2 separate regions of the Homo sapiens genome follow, and region 1 is linked to region 2. The links are contacts of gene promoters, found by promoter capture Hi-C in human tissues and cell types (Jung and others, 2019). All regions are on one chromosome and are shown on one strand. The core of a region is centred on a gene start or on the middle of the fragment in contact, and the rest is flanking DNA. Distances in the headings are between cores, read along the strand shown. Region 1 has its middle 130 kb from the start of EMC2. Region 2 holds the start of TMEM74 (transmembrane protein 74).

What was found. The method cuts DNA at HindIII sites, captures the fragments that hold promoters and counts their contacts. A contact is called where the count stands out against the background at its distance.
Region 1: a fragment that was not itself captured here is called in contact with the fragment with the promoter of TMEM74 in region 2 in 2 of the 25 tissues and cell types used here (aorta and neural progenitor cells).

The regions. Positions count from the first base shown.
Region 1 is chr8:108,571,126-108,578,885 of GRCh38, forward strand. It overlaps the pseudogene LOC101060000. Among named protein-coding and RNA genes, the nearest start is that of EMC2, 130 kb to the left of the region's middle. The HindIII fragment of the contact is 7,453 bases long and covers 1-5,672 here.
Region 2 is chr8:108,782,491-108,789,188 of GRCh38, forward strand. TMEM74 (transmembrane protein 74) reads right to left here and starts at 5,104. Exons shown (of 2, transcript NM_153015.3): 1 at 4,986-5,104; 2 at 1-2,647. The coding sequence starts at 2,608. The coding sequence ends at 1,691. RefSeq lists silencers at 4,330-4,624, 5,040-5,219. The HindIII fragment of the contact is 13,104 bases long and covers 1,333-6,698 here.

The DNA of each region.
Region 1 (7,760 bases), core at 696-3,195, 210 kb before region 2:
TAGAAACCATGGCTCACTATTGGTGGTAACGTTTGGGTGAAGGGAAGCAGTAGGGCAGAAATTACTCATTTTTTCCTCAGAATATAACTTCTTTGCTATAGTCACAGTGTGTTCTAAGTGGTCCACGGTACTTCTAGTAATGTGCTTTTCCATTTGATAAATATTGTAATTGCTGTACCTTCTCCTCCTTCCTTGGCACACATTCTTTGTGCAGCTTGGACTTACAATTTTAATGATACCACATTATACTGTACTAAAAACCATTTACCTTTATAAATAAACACTGAACTTAGCTAATGGACCAAGGTAATGTCCTTTTTTTTTTTTTTTTTTGAGTCTCGCTTTGTTGCTCAGGCTGTACTGCCTCCCGAGTTCAAGCAATTCTCCTGCCTCAGCCTCATGAGTAGCTGAGACAGGAGTGCGCCACTACGCCCGGCTGATTTTTTTTTTTTTTTTTTTTAGTAGAGATGGATTTTTGCCATGTTGGCCAGGCTAGTCTCGAACTCCTGACCTCAAGTGATCCTCCTGCCTTGACCTCCCAAAGTACTGGGATTATGGGTGTGAGCTACCGTGCCCAGCCCAATGTAATGTCTTGACTCTTCTTCCCTTCGAATGAGTTTCTCTTCAAACAGTATAATGCCTGTGAAGCTAAGCAGGAGTCATTATCCCCAGATTTCTGGGCCACTCCTCAATCCCAAGAGGCCCAGACATGTTTCTCTTACCATCAGTCCCCTGAAATTCTCATGAAAATAAAACCAGTAGGTCTGCCTTCCTCACCTGCCTGCTAAGATATACCTGGAATACTCTTCAAATATTACTAGAAATCGCTTAAAAAATTGAAATGATATGCAAATTTTTACTTTAGACAAAATGAATAAAGATCAGTTGCTGTTATGTTTGGAAGAAAAAATGGGCCACATTATTGTGTAAGTTTATTGGGGGCTATGCATCATTTCCAAATTCAGGAAGTCATGGTTTCCTGCTAGTACAGACTAAAAAGCAGTAGCTGAATGGATTGGTAGAGCTAATTAAGTCATTTAAAATTATTGTTTCCACTTCTTTCAATAAAGGATATATTTATTTTCTTTGTAATATTTAAACACAGCAGTTATAATTTAAATAAACAAGTAAAAGAATGCACAGACTTATTCACAAAGCAAGCTCACTGTTCTATATTTAAAAACTTTTTAGCCGCATTCAATGAATTCCGGTGGGATTTGGTGAGTTTATTTTCTTTTCGGTTTTAATTAGGAAACCCTACTGCATTTGTAGGTAGCTATGCTAGAGGAATAGTTATGTTTTTATTTGATTATATTTGATGTTAGTGATTTTTTATTTAATGAAATTTTAGTGATGTTATTTTGTCAGTTGGATTTTGTTTTTAAAGAGCGGAGCAGGCCGCTGCCACCAGCACAGCGGTGCTGGAGCCTAGAGGAGACCTGGGCCACCACTTCGCCTCCCCTGTATCTCACTGCCAGTCGCCTCTGTCCTGGGACCTGTTCCAACAATCTGTTAAAACATGGTGGATTACTATGAAGTTCTGGGCTTGCAGAGACATGCCTCAACTGAGGATATTAGAAAGGCATATCGAAAACTGGCACTGAAGTAACACCCAGATAAAAATCCTGAGAATAAAGAAGCAGAGAGAAAATTCAAACAAGTAGCCAAGGCCTATGAAGTGCTGTCAGATGCTAAAAAGCGGACATCTGTGAAAAATATGGCAAAGAAAGATTAGTTGGCGGAGAGGAGGTGGAAGTCATTTTGACAGTTCCGTGAGTTTGGCTTCACATTCTGTAACCCAGGTGATGTCTTCAGGGAAGTTTTTGGTGGAAGTTTTTGACTTCTTTGGATTTACTTCATTCAGGTCATGGGGGTCTCACTTCATTCTCTTCCACCTCATTTGGTGGTACTGGGATGGGTAACTTTAAATCTCTATCAACTTCTACTAAAATGGTTGGCAGGAAAATTACTACAAAGAGGATTGTCGAGGATTGTCAAGAAGGAATAGATGTTGAAAAAGACAGCTAGTTAAAGTCCTAAACGATAAAAGGTAAGAAGCAGCTTCTGGCTTGGGTAACAAGTAATTCAATGCATGCATTTAACAGAAATGTTAAATAATAACAAGTGCCATTTGAGGATTAACAGGAACTGTTTTTTTTTTTTTTGTTTTTTTTTTTTTGAGACAAAGTCTCGCTCTGTTGCCCAGGCTGGAGTGCAGTGGTGTTATCTCGGCTCACTGCAACCTCTGCCTCCCGGGTTCAAGTGATTCTCCTGCCTCAGCCTCCCGAGTAGCTGAGACTACAGGTGCATGCCACCAAGCCCAGCTAATTTTTTCGTATTTTTAGCAGAGACAGGGTTTCGCCGTGTTAGCTAGGATGGTCTTGATCGCCTGACCTCGTGATCTGCCCAACTCGGCCTCCCAAAGTGCTGGGATTACAGGCGTGAGCCACCGCACCAGGCCAACAGGAACTTTTTTTTAAAGATTTCAAACAAACACTACTTTCAGTTTAATTGTACCTAATCTAAAGTATTTACAAACAGCTCAACAGAGCCCCTATTTGTCATAGACTTTTGAGTTTATCGTTGGGACCTTTTTTTGTCTTTAAAATTGTTGAAATCTCTGTGTGCACTTTGCCTTTTTATTAAACGTACTCCAAGGTGAGACTTTACCATTTTGTAGTAGGATGAGATTGCATACTAACACCAGCATGGATTTGCTTTCCCGTTGTATCTGAAATGTGAGCCTCCTAGTATTGTCCTGCTGTGAAGTTAACATTGACAGGATGAATCTTCTACAGCAACAGGCTTCAACCTTTTTGGCACCAGGGGCCGGTTTCATGGAAGACAATTTCTCCACGGTTGGAGTGGGGGTTGGGGATGGTTTTGGGATGATTCAAGCACATTACATTTATTGTGTAGTTTATTTCTATGATTATTATTGTTACACTGTAATATATAATGAAATAATTATACGACTCATCTTAATGTAGAATCAGGGGGAGCCCTGAGCTTGTGTTCCTGAAGTCCCATTTGGGAGTGATGGGAGACAGTGACAGATCATCAGGCATTAGCTTCTCATAAGAAGCATGATGCCTAGATCCCTCACATGTGCAGTTCACAGTAGGGTCCACGTTCCTATGAGAATCTAATACTGCACTGATCTGACAGGAGATGGAACTCAGGAGATATTGCCAGCAATGGGGAATGGCTGTAAATACAGATGATGCTTTGCTGGCTTGCCCACTGCTCACCTCCTGCTGTGTGACCCAGTTCCTGCAGGCCACAGACTGCTACAGGTCAGTGGCCCGAGAGTTGGGGACCCCTGTTGTACAGAAATAACTTCAATTTTTTTTTCAGTATTTAGTAGTGAAAGATATTAATTAAATAATGGTAATACATTTTTGGTTTAATATAAATTAAGAATGTTTTCCAGTTGTGCATGAATGCTGGCAACTTGATACGTTTTGACAATTGTTTAAATATGTAATGTTAAGCTTAGGTTTAAAAAAGTATAGCTGTGGCCAGGCACGGTGGCTCACGCCTGTAATCCCAGCACTCTGGGAGGCCGAAGCGGGCGGATCACCTGAGGTCAGGAGTTCAAGACCAGCCTGGCCAATATGGTGAAACCCCGTCTCTACTAAAAATTTAAAAAATTAGCTGGGCATGGTGGTGTGTGCCTGTAGTTCTAGCTACTCAGGAGGCTGAGGCTGGATAATTGCTTGAACCTGGGAGGTGGATGTTGCAGTGAGCCGAGATCACGCCACTGCCGTACAGCCTGGGGGAGAGAGTAGGACTCTGTCTCAAACAAAACAAAACAAAACAAAAAAGGAAAGCTGGTAAGCTGGGTCTTTGTGATTTGCTTAAAAAAATAAAAAAGAAAGAAAATTGATGTGAATGTGTTTGGTGCATTCTTTCCTGAGTGGAAGAAAAAAAAAGAATGGAGCAAATGAAACCAAATATTTACTTAAAGTCATTTTGAATATTGTGCAAGTATGTACTTATTGAGAAAGTTGAACTTTCTCTAAGATAAATCCCCTCCAATGTCTACATTTTAACTGCAGATTAGTTTGAGATTGGGGCCTTGTGAAACAAAATAAGTATTCAGAAAAACTTTCTTTTATTTGTGGTGGTGAGCAGAGGCAAGAAGGAGGGGAAAGGCCTGCAGTAGATGAACCATCCCCTGAGATTTTCTAGGAGGGGCCACTAAGAATTTTCTTTGGATTTTTCAAGTGTAAGGATGTATCTGAATCACTTCATCAGCTCATTCTCTACCATCATAGCCAAGAATGAAAAGACACTGTCAGCAGCCTGGAGTCAGCCATGAAACCGAAGCTCCTCAGGGATGGGTGGCAATACCAGGGTCCCAACAAAAACTTTGTTCCTGGGTAGTTCTCCTCCTTCCTGCAGTTATTAACTCAGAACTTCTTCCTCAACAACTTCTTAAGAGATGATAAATGCATCCCTGGTCTTGTATCTTTCATCCTGAAGTGCACAATGATTGCCTAAGACAAACACTTCATGAACTGTCTCTTCTTGAACTCTCTCATTTCTGCCCTGCTTTTCAGAGTTGACTGACCACTTTCTCTACTTCCCCACACCCTGTTTTCACTTTTACCTCTGTCCCATTTTACCCTTTGAGGCCACCATTCCATTATTAAAAGCATTCTGAGATATTGACCCTTCCATTCTCTTCTTTCATTTCCTTGGTTTACCCTAAACTTAGAATCCTCAGATTCTGGAGCTATAAGGGATCTTAAGGGTTAATTTGCTTCACTGTCTTATAGATGAATAAAGTCCAGAGAAATTAACTGTTCAAGGTTATGTAGCTCCATACGAACACTACTAGGAGTATTTTCACTACATATCTCTCAAGTTTGTTAATATTATTATTATTTTTAGTAATAATTTATATCTTATTTGTTGGCATCATATAATATAGTAGAAATAAATTTGATGTTGATGTGAAAAAAGTAATTTATTTATTGAACATGTACTATGTGTCAAAAATTGTTCTACATACTGGAAATTCAGTTGTGAATAAAGTAGGAAAAAACCTTCAACATTCATGGACTTTGCATGGTGGAAAATAGATTCTAAATGGATGCACAAGTAAAATATATAATGGTTGTCATGGTGCTGCAAATTTAAGTAGGGGGTTGGGGGAGACATGAAACCAAGGCTTTGGAAGTGAGGAAAGTGAATATGCTGGACCCAAATCAAAGAACCAGAGGCCTTTCTTGATTGATTTAATTTTTGCTAATGAAGGATTGCCAATTATAATTCTTCTGAAGTCTTTTTTTTCTTCCTTCTGATAGGAACACTGTAAAGTTATTTGGTAGAAAGTAATGTAATGAAAGGGTGATTTTGCCCTGGCTGCCACCCTCATTACTTTCATTTATTTTTGTTAATCTCACTCCTCAAAGAGGCATGATTCACCATTGATACAGCAGTCACAAGCTAAGTTAATTGAAATCGAAACTTGAATTTCTTCATTTTCAAGAACTGAGTTTCTCACTCGAAGGCAAAAGATGATTAATCGAGGCTTCATGTAAGAGAAAAAACATGGTGCAGGGGCAGCCTGGAGCTGCCAGGGCTTCAGCTCAAATACCCATGATATGGACATTCACAGAAGAGGGCGACAGCCTGGAGACTGAAGAGGGAATTGGCACAGAAAACAGAGGAATAAGTGCTGACACATTGTCTCTGTTTTTTCCTAACCCAGTGAACTAGGAACTCACTGTACACTATTTTAAAACTGAGGAGGATGGGCAGTCTTTAATTATATGGGAGTGATTAAATAAGAAAATAGTATTTCTCAATAATTTTTCTTAACTTATGCTTGTGCATACATACCATAGCAGGGGAAAAATATATACAATAAATTTCCCCTTGTGTTTTTCCTGCTTCTCCTACAATTTCTCCTTCCTTTCCCAATTCCCTTCTTCTTCCCGCTCTTAGTGTTGGTGTTGCTTAGGGTTCCATCCTTTAATCACTGCTGTCCTTCCTTAGCTTCTATCCGTGGGTAGGCCTGCCCATTTGTAGGGCTTTAGTTGTCACCTTAATGATGACACCCCAATGTCTCTCTTCATACCTCACCTCTACGGTAACTAGAAGTAATATTTCATCCTCAGATCATAGGGATGCCTCGAATGTCTTAGGTATGGAAACAAACCAAACACCTTTGCTCTAAAAATTTGCTCAACCTTTTGAATCTCCATTTCACTATCCATCCTATCTCCCCAGCCAGACACTTGACTCGTTTTTGATTGATCCCTTTTTATTATCAATAAATTGCTGATACTTCCAGTCATATGTCTCAATATTCCTTTCTGTCTGTTCTTGCTTTCCATACTTATAGATATACTCTCATTTAGAGTCTCATCTCATCTTTCTCCTCCCTTAACCCACTCACATCCTCCACATTTCTGGAGAGATCTTTGAAAATGCAAGTCTGACCCTGCTAATATCCTGCTATGATCACTTCCCAAAATTGACAATATCCTTTTTTTTTTTTTTTTTTTTTGAGATAGAGTTTTGTTCTTGTTGCCCAGGCTGGAGTGCAGTGGCACAATCTCAGCTCGCTGCAACCTCCTCCCGAGTTCAAGTGATTCTCCTGCCTCAGCCTCCCAAGTAGCTGGGATTGCAGGCGCCCACCACCAAGCCTGGCTAATTTTTGTATTTTTAATAGAGACAGGGTTTCACCATGTTGGCCAGGCTGGTCTCGAACTCCTGATCTCAGGTGATCCACCTGCCTTGACCTCCCAAAATGCTGGGATTATAGGTGTGAGCCACCACGCCCGGCCGACAATATTCTTTAGGATCAGATTTTTCATATCTAAAATCTTGCTTTCTGTGTTATGGTTATGTATCTTCATTTTGGAAAAAAGAAATAGTAAGGATATTAAAATGACAGAACCACATAATCCAGGAATGAAAGTTTTTTCAAGGTTTACTAATGGAACATCTATCACCTCTCTGAGGCATCCAAGCAGAAGCCGTGCATCAATTTAGAGTGACTAAAAGTAGAGGGCATTTAAGTCTCAGGTATGATCTGAACTAAATTAATTCTCAGACTTCTCCCAAAACCACTTTGGATTGTTTTATTTGGTGAAATCCTACTTATATTCTAGGCTCAGCTTAAATGACATTTCCTTTATGAAATATTGTCCTGTCTTCAGCTAAAAGTAATTTTCTTCAGCTTTATTTTCTTCTTTACTACAGAACAGGAATATATATATATTTTTGTGACGGAGTCTCACTCTGTCTCCCAGGCTGGAGTGCAGTGGCACTGTGTTGGCTCACTGCAACTTTCATCTCCTGGGTTCAAGCAATTCTCTTGCCTTAGCCTCCCAAATAGCTGGGATTTTAGGCGCCTGCCACCACGCCCAGCTAATTTTTTTATATTTTTAGTAGAGACAGGGTTTCGCCATGTTGGCCAGGCTGGTCTCAAACTCCTGACCTCAGGTGATCCCTCAACCTTGGCCTCCCAAAATGCTGGGATTACAGGCATGAGCCACTGCATCCACCCCCAAGCTATATCTTTAAGGAGACTTTAGTTCAAATCCTGGCTCTAGTACTTACTAGTTTTGTGATCTTAGAAAGGGTGATTGATTAATGACTGTGAAACTTGGTTTCTGCTCCTATAAGATGATAATATTAATTTATGCTCCTAGGATATTAGTGAGAATTTTTAGAAAGAAGTAGATCTTTGGTCTAGAGGTTCTAGGAGAAATTCACATCGAAGGTCGGTCATTCAGCTT
Region 2 (6,698 bases), core at 3,854-6,353:
CTTTTTGTATTTCAGTTCAACCCTTAAGTCATATGCAGCATACCTCACTCATCAAATCAATCTGACACCCATGAGAGCTCATCCACATAAATATCCTGATTCACACATTTTGCCAAAGTCACCCATGTATTCCACAGTTGTCCACAACACCACAAACTTCAGACATTTGAAATAGCCTTTAAAAATCTGCAAAGAAATCACTTTCTTACTTCCTCATTCCTGCTGTCTCATACCAATTCCCAGCTCCTGTCCTCTTTTTAAGAATGACCCCCTGATCCTGGTAACACAATCATGGAAGTTACAACAACTCTTAGAGCACAGGTTGGAAAAACCTCCAGGCAGAGTTGCAAAATGTAAGGTATTTCTGAGGCTGCATTTCCCATCCCTTTTCTGAACCGTCACCATAATGAGGCGGTCTGTCACTGTGAACACCCAGTGTGTGTCTTGCAAAGTGAGCACCTTGCTCATCATGCTGCTCTTAGAGAAGAGTTTGTGCTGCATGAGGCAAGAGTTCACAGTTGCTGAATGACATCTAGACCACTGTGAGTGGGAGGTGAGTTCTGACGATGACTACAGTCCCCATTAAATCAGTGTATTGAATCTCTCTTTCCATTTTATTTTTTTTTGGCTTTGGGCTTAAGGACTGTTGCTACCATGAGGGAAGTGCTCGTTGCTTGGCCTACAGCAAGTGATACAGCCTGCGAGGCACAGTCCCCAAAAGTCTAGCTGCAATTCTATTGGTGGTTTTCCCCAAACAGCAATAACAAGATGTTACCTGGAAGCACACCAGAGCCAATCATGACTCAGGCCTGTCTAGATGTTTAGATGTCTGGAAATATATTTAAAATGTCTCATGCCTTGCCTCTTGCTGCTGGTGTGAGAACCAGCAGACTTCAAGAGCACAGATAACCAGTATGATGGCAAAATCACAAAATATAAAACTTATATCAGTAACTAATTTGACTTCATTTTAAAAAAGAGCCTGTGACCCTGGCTAATATCTGGCACCAACACTGTGGTTTAAATTCACATTGGTCTTACAATGATTTACATAATTTTTTTTTATTAGAAAGTTTATCCTAATGACTTAATTACCATTTTTGAAAACAGGAATAATTTCAAACATAACATTTTTTACAATAAGGAAAGCCCAACATCCTCAAACTTCAAAATATTCAAACTAAAAATTCCATGTTTTAGTGTTTAGCCAAATTACAAGAAGGATAATTTAGCAAGAAAATGGATAAGCACCTTTGAGAATTAGATGTAAGCCTTATTATTGATTAGTGCTTAGTTCTTTTTCACAAAGTAGATTAGCAATTGATCCTACTGTGTGTAGGACCACCTAGTGTCCAAAGAATAACATCATATATTTGTGTAAAAGAAATAATTTGTAGACTGGGTCATTAGAAATATTTTTCTATCGAAGTAGAAGTTCTTGGCCATTACAGATTAATTAGCCTTCAGCTCTTCAGAAGGATAGGTGTGGCTGGTTGTGGTTTCTTATACATCTTACATGGCTTTTCTTCTAAATAGAAGACACATAGAGAACAAAAACACTTACTGGCTGTTGGTTTGTGAAATAAACTTTTCTTGCCAGGCAAATAAATTGCACTGTGAATTTTTATAAATTAACTTTTTTCATATTATAAAATGCCAAGGCAGACTCTCAAGATATTCACAACCAGAATTAACTCTGTACAGCAAGCGCATCTTCCTCTACCAAGGACAGTTCCAGAGTGTTTTCATTCGTGCTGGTTTTCATCCTGAAGTTGAAAGAACCATAGAGTTTTGCAGACTCTTTGGAAGAGGCAAATCTGTTTCGACGATAGAGCTCCCCCTTCCACATGGACATCATTAACAAGCAGGACAGGATGACGCCCCCCAGCGTGAGGAGGCAGAGCCCCGCAATCACACAGCGGTCCAGGTGAGCCCCCAGCCTCGCACTCTCCTTCTCCAGGCGCTCCATCTCCCGGGCTGCCACAGTGTTGGGGTCCACAGTCACTTCCCGTGGGACGATGTAAGAGATGATCACGAGCAGGATCCCAGTGACCAAGAACAAGATGGCGCTGATGAAACCATAGTCTATAGACTTCCCTGAAGACGTGGCTTCTGAACTTGTATCATCCTCCTCTTCAGATATCAAAGATATGGCAGCCTCTTGGGACCACTCATTTGGATTTTCCCAGCCAAGCTCCCCAGGGTGATTATGCCCTTTTGCTGATGGCGAGCTCCGGTTCCGCTGCTCCAAGTTGATGTTTTTGTCCACATAGGTAAAAGAAGTTTCTAATTCCTGGCTGCAGCAGTTACAGACTTTCCGTTCCGCTGTTATTTGGTTGTTCCCTGAGTGGAGAAGTCCTGGTGGAAAGGCATCTGGCTGAAGAGTACTGTTTTGCAGAGAGGAGGAGGGGGATGCTGGAGAAGAACTAAGTTTAGACCCTTCCATCTCGGTTGCTCTTGGGGTGGATGCACACTGTTTCTGACAGCAGAGAGCAGCTCTTGTGGCTGCTGTATCTGCCTGGTCACCAGGCAGCCCTCTTGAACTCCAGTCCCTGGCATCACAGAGGTCTGCCTGGTTGCTCTTCTTAGCAAGGTAGTGGAGCTCCATGAGAGCTAGTCAGACATCCCCCAGCAGCTTCCGGAAAGTCTGCCAATAGCAACAGAGTTAGATAAGAACCCAACAGAAGCTAAGGTTGTACTTCCAGGAGTGTTGCTCCTGGGGTCCCCATTTCCTTCACAGCTGCACCTGTTTAGCCCCTTTTCCACCTCAAACAGGCAAAAGAAGGGAGGGGATACCTAGTGGCAGGAAAGTGTGGAAGGGACAAATGCTCTCACTTGTCATAGTGATTAACACTGAGAAACTTAAGTCAGGGTAGAAAGGTGCGTGGAGGAAGTGGCAGTGTCTACTGAGAAAGAATACTGCCGTCACCAAGCCAAATTTATTCAAGGACTCGCGCATTCCTGCAAAAGGATCCCTCAAACGAGAAGGCAAGTTTCCTGTAAAAAGACAAATGAGAAAGGCAAGAGCCCTTTTTAGCAGAGCTGCCGATTTTCTGGAGGACTTGGGGAAGCATAGACTTGTTAATTCAGTAAGATTGTAAGTGTTTACACTCTCCCTAGTTCAGAGCAAATTCTAATACAGATTAGCTTTGGAGCATCACCATCAGTGAATGACTATACACCCCTATCAGCTGGGCAGGAACTCAGCATTTTGATTCCATAGCTCTGAAGTAGATGAAAAAGGCCAGCTTAATCAGCCACCTCTGCTAAGCTTACACCTCATACATCCAATGACCCTAGTGACACAGCCCTGTATTTACAAGACCATATGCTGCTTATTCACTGTGCTTCCACTTAGCCCTATTCCCTCACTGCTCCATGGGGGAAGCATGTTCTGGACCCCAAAGCATACAGGCAACAGACCTTACGGCAATCCCTGCAAAATACAATGGGCCAACCCACTCCTCCACACACACACCTGCCTGCTCCAGCTGCAGGATCTGCTACTCCCGTTCCCTGGGTCTGTGTTCCTCCCTCTCTGCATGCTTTGCTATCACACAATGCACAAGAAATTGACCATCTGGATAGTTTTACAAACCCAATCTAGAAGTGAACTGATAATAAAAGACAAACTATAAACCCACAGAGTAAGAGTTCTGTGGAGACAAATAGGTGAGAAGCTATTTCCAAGGTTACCTCTGTAATTTTATAAACATGTCACTCCTCACCCCCGACTGCAGCAAGGGGCATTTCTGGGAGAGAACTTTGGTTTGAGCAGAAAACCATCGGCTTTTCTCTGCCTCTGCCATGTTTCTAAGGAATAAAAATTCACTTTCCACTATCATTAGAGATTTTAACCAAAGGCTCCTTTTATTTTGCTTCCAAATCCAGGGTGATAATTGATTTAACCCAACGGCTTGAGGCTTCTTATAATTCAAAATCCACAGCTCCAAAGCTGGTAACAGAAACACAGGCAAGGGTCACCTAAGGTCAACCTGGCAACTCAAAATATGGGAGAGGGAATTGACATGTTTTCTGCTACACCTAAGAGTTTGTTTAAAACAAAACAAAAAAAGCAAAACAGAAAACGTTTTTCTCCTGTTATCGGAGTTTCTCTACAGTGAAAACAGCAAAAAACAACAGGGCAAAAGAATCACTACTAAACTAGAACAAACCCCCACTAAAGGATCCCTCAATGAATGAAGTGATGGTAACAGGCTTCATCAATTACCGATAACTCTTCTTCCAGTTTTCTCAGGCATTAGGGGCTCTGATTAACCTTTGGTACCATTAACTCATCACACTAGCCTACCTTGGATAAAATCAGCAGGGTTCTTTGAGACTTTCAGTTTATAACAAAAGAAGAGAGAAATCCCCACTTAATTCCCTACGGCCGCCTCTACCTCTCTTTAAAGAAAAGCTACTCCCGCTTGTTCGCTTGTTCTACCGGAGGTATGCTAGCAGCACAGTCGATTTCCTTTGCAGCTCCCTAATCCGGGGTTTCCATTCTCAGTGGAGAATGGATAATCCCAGGGGACCAGCTAAAGACTCTTTTCTTCCGTCCTCTCCCTCTTTTTCCTCTGATCTGCTTAAAAGCCCAGTTAACGACATTGCACCTTAAAGCGAGGGGACACGCACTTTCCCTCGTCCATCTGTCATCAATTAAAAGCATTAATATTTGCTTTAAACTGACACAGGCAAGGCTGATCTCGGGGAGGCGACCTCTGGATGCGCCCTGTGCGAGCAAAGCCGGGAGAGCGAGCCCCAAGCACCTGGCAGCGGTGCCCCCAGCAGGCGCCGAGGAATCCGGCTATCCATTTCTGGTGAACTCTGCGCCCACTGAGGCATTCGAGGTACGGATGTGTCCGCCTAGTACTCGGAGACGAAGGAGAGAGAGCGGGGATATGCGCTCCAGCTCTGCTAGGCTCCAGGGCTCTCACCCTTGCATTCAAAGCCTCCACCCCATCCCACTCCCCGCCACTCACCTTCTGCTTCGGCCACCCGGTGCGGCTCCAGCACCGCGCGCTCTCCCGGCACGGTTCCCGGAGAAAGTCCCCCAATCACCAGCTACGGCACTTGTAGCCTCTGCACGCCGCTCGGCTCCGCCGGGTGGGCAGCGCCCGCCACGGCGGGCGGGGTGGGGCGGGGCGGGGCGCTCCCGGAGCATCCCGGGAGTTGTAGGCCAGGGGCGGTCCCTGCATCCCTCCTGTCTCTGTCTCCTCCCACGCCTTCTGGGTTTTACCCTTCCTGCAGATGAGTTCCCGCCATACCCTCTTACTCCTCCCCAGCACTTAAGAAGACAGCACTGTTTTCTAAGCCTAGAGTGGAGTTCCCTAGCCTCAGGTGTGGCCACAAGACTGTGAAAAGGAAAGTATATTCGACTTCAAATGTGCCAGATAATTTGCATATTTTGTCTTTTTAATAGTCAAAACAAATCTTCCAAGTAGATTTTATTAATCCTCATTTTACAGATGTGGAAACAGGCTCAGAGAGGGTAAGTGCCTCATCCACAGTTACCAACAGCAGCTTCTGAAATTGCATCCAGGAGTCAGATTCGAAAGTCATTGCGTGTCTCACAAAATCAGAAGAAATATGACCATAAGGGGTAAGAGATTGTCCGATGTACCAACACATCCCCTGTATTTAGCACAGTGGTATTCGTTGAATGTATGAATAATAATGACTCAAAATAACAGTTAACATAAATAGCGCTTATTATTGCCAGGCTCTCTTCTAAGCACTATAGATACATTATCTCATTTAATGGTCACAATTTATTGTTAAAGTACTGTAAAAAAAAATCCTCATTTTAACAGAAGGCAAAACTGAGTTACAAAGTAGAATAATTTGCCCAATGTCACACAACTAATACTTAGCAGAGGTGGGGGGGGGGGGATGAACACCAACAGATTCTAAGCGTTATGCTATATGGAATGAATGGAAGAAAGACCAGAAGGCCAGAATAAAAGGGCTCAGGAATAAAGGAAATCTGAAGGTTGAATCTTCTGAGTTGTGACTCTTAGGATAGGACAAGGTAACTGTGTCACCAGCCTCTTTCAACCAGAGTGGACTGCAATAGCCAACAGCCACTGAAAGCCCAGGGTATGTGTAGCTTGCAGATAATCTCCAGTTTTCCAGCATCCTGTTGGGACAATTCTAGGGGAGCAAAAAAGGATTATAGTATGGATGGGCTGGGCACGATGGCTCACGCCAGTAATGCCAGCAATTTGGGAGGCCGAGGCGGGCAGATCACGAGGTCAGAAAATCGAGACCATCCTGGCCAACATGGTGAAACCCCGTCTCTACTAAAATAGAAAAAATTAGCCGGGCGTGGTGGCGCGTGCCTGTACTCCCAGCTACTCAGGAGGCTGAGGCAGGGGAATCGCTTGAAGCCGGAGGCGGAGGTTGCAGTGAGCAGAGATCGTGCCACTGCACCACTCCAGCCTGGCGACAAAGCAAGACTCCGTCTCAAAAAAAAAAAAAAGAAAAAAAGAAAAAAGGGATTAGGGATTATAGTATGTATTATGACATTGTGCTTGTAGCTCACATAAATACTGTGGTTGCTTGCTTTCAAAAGAGAGATCTATCTCCTTTAATGACAATTATGTTGGTATTTCATTACATTGGATAGAATCTATAGTCACATGATTACAGGAGTTCACAATGCTCCCTCTTTAAAATTCTTTTTCCCCCATATG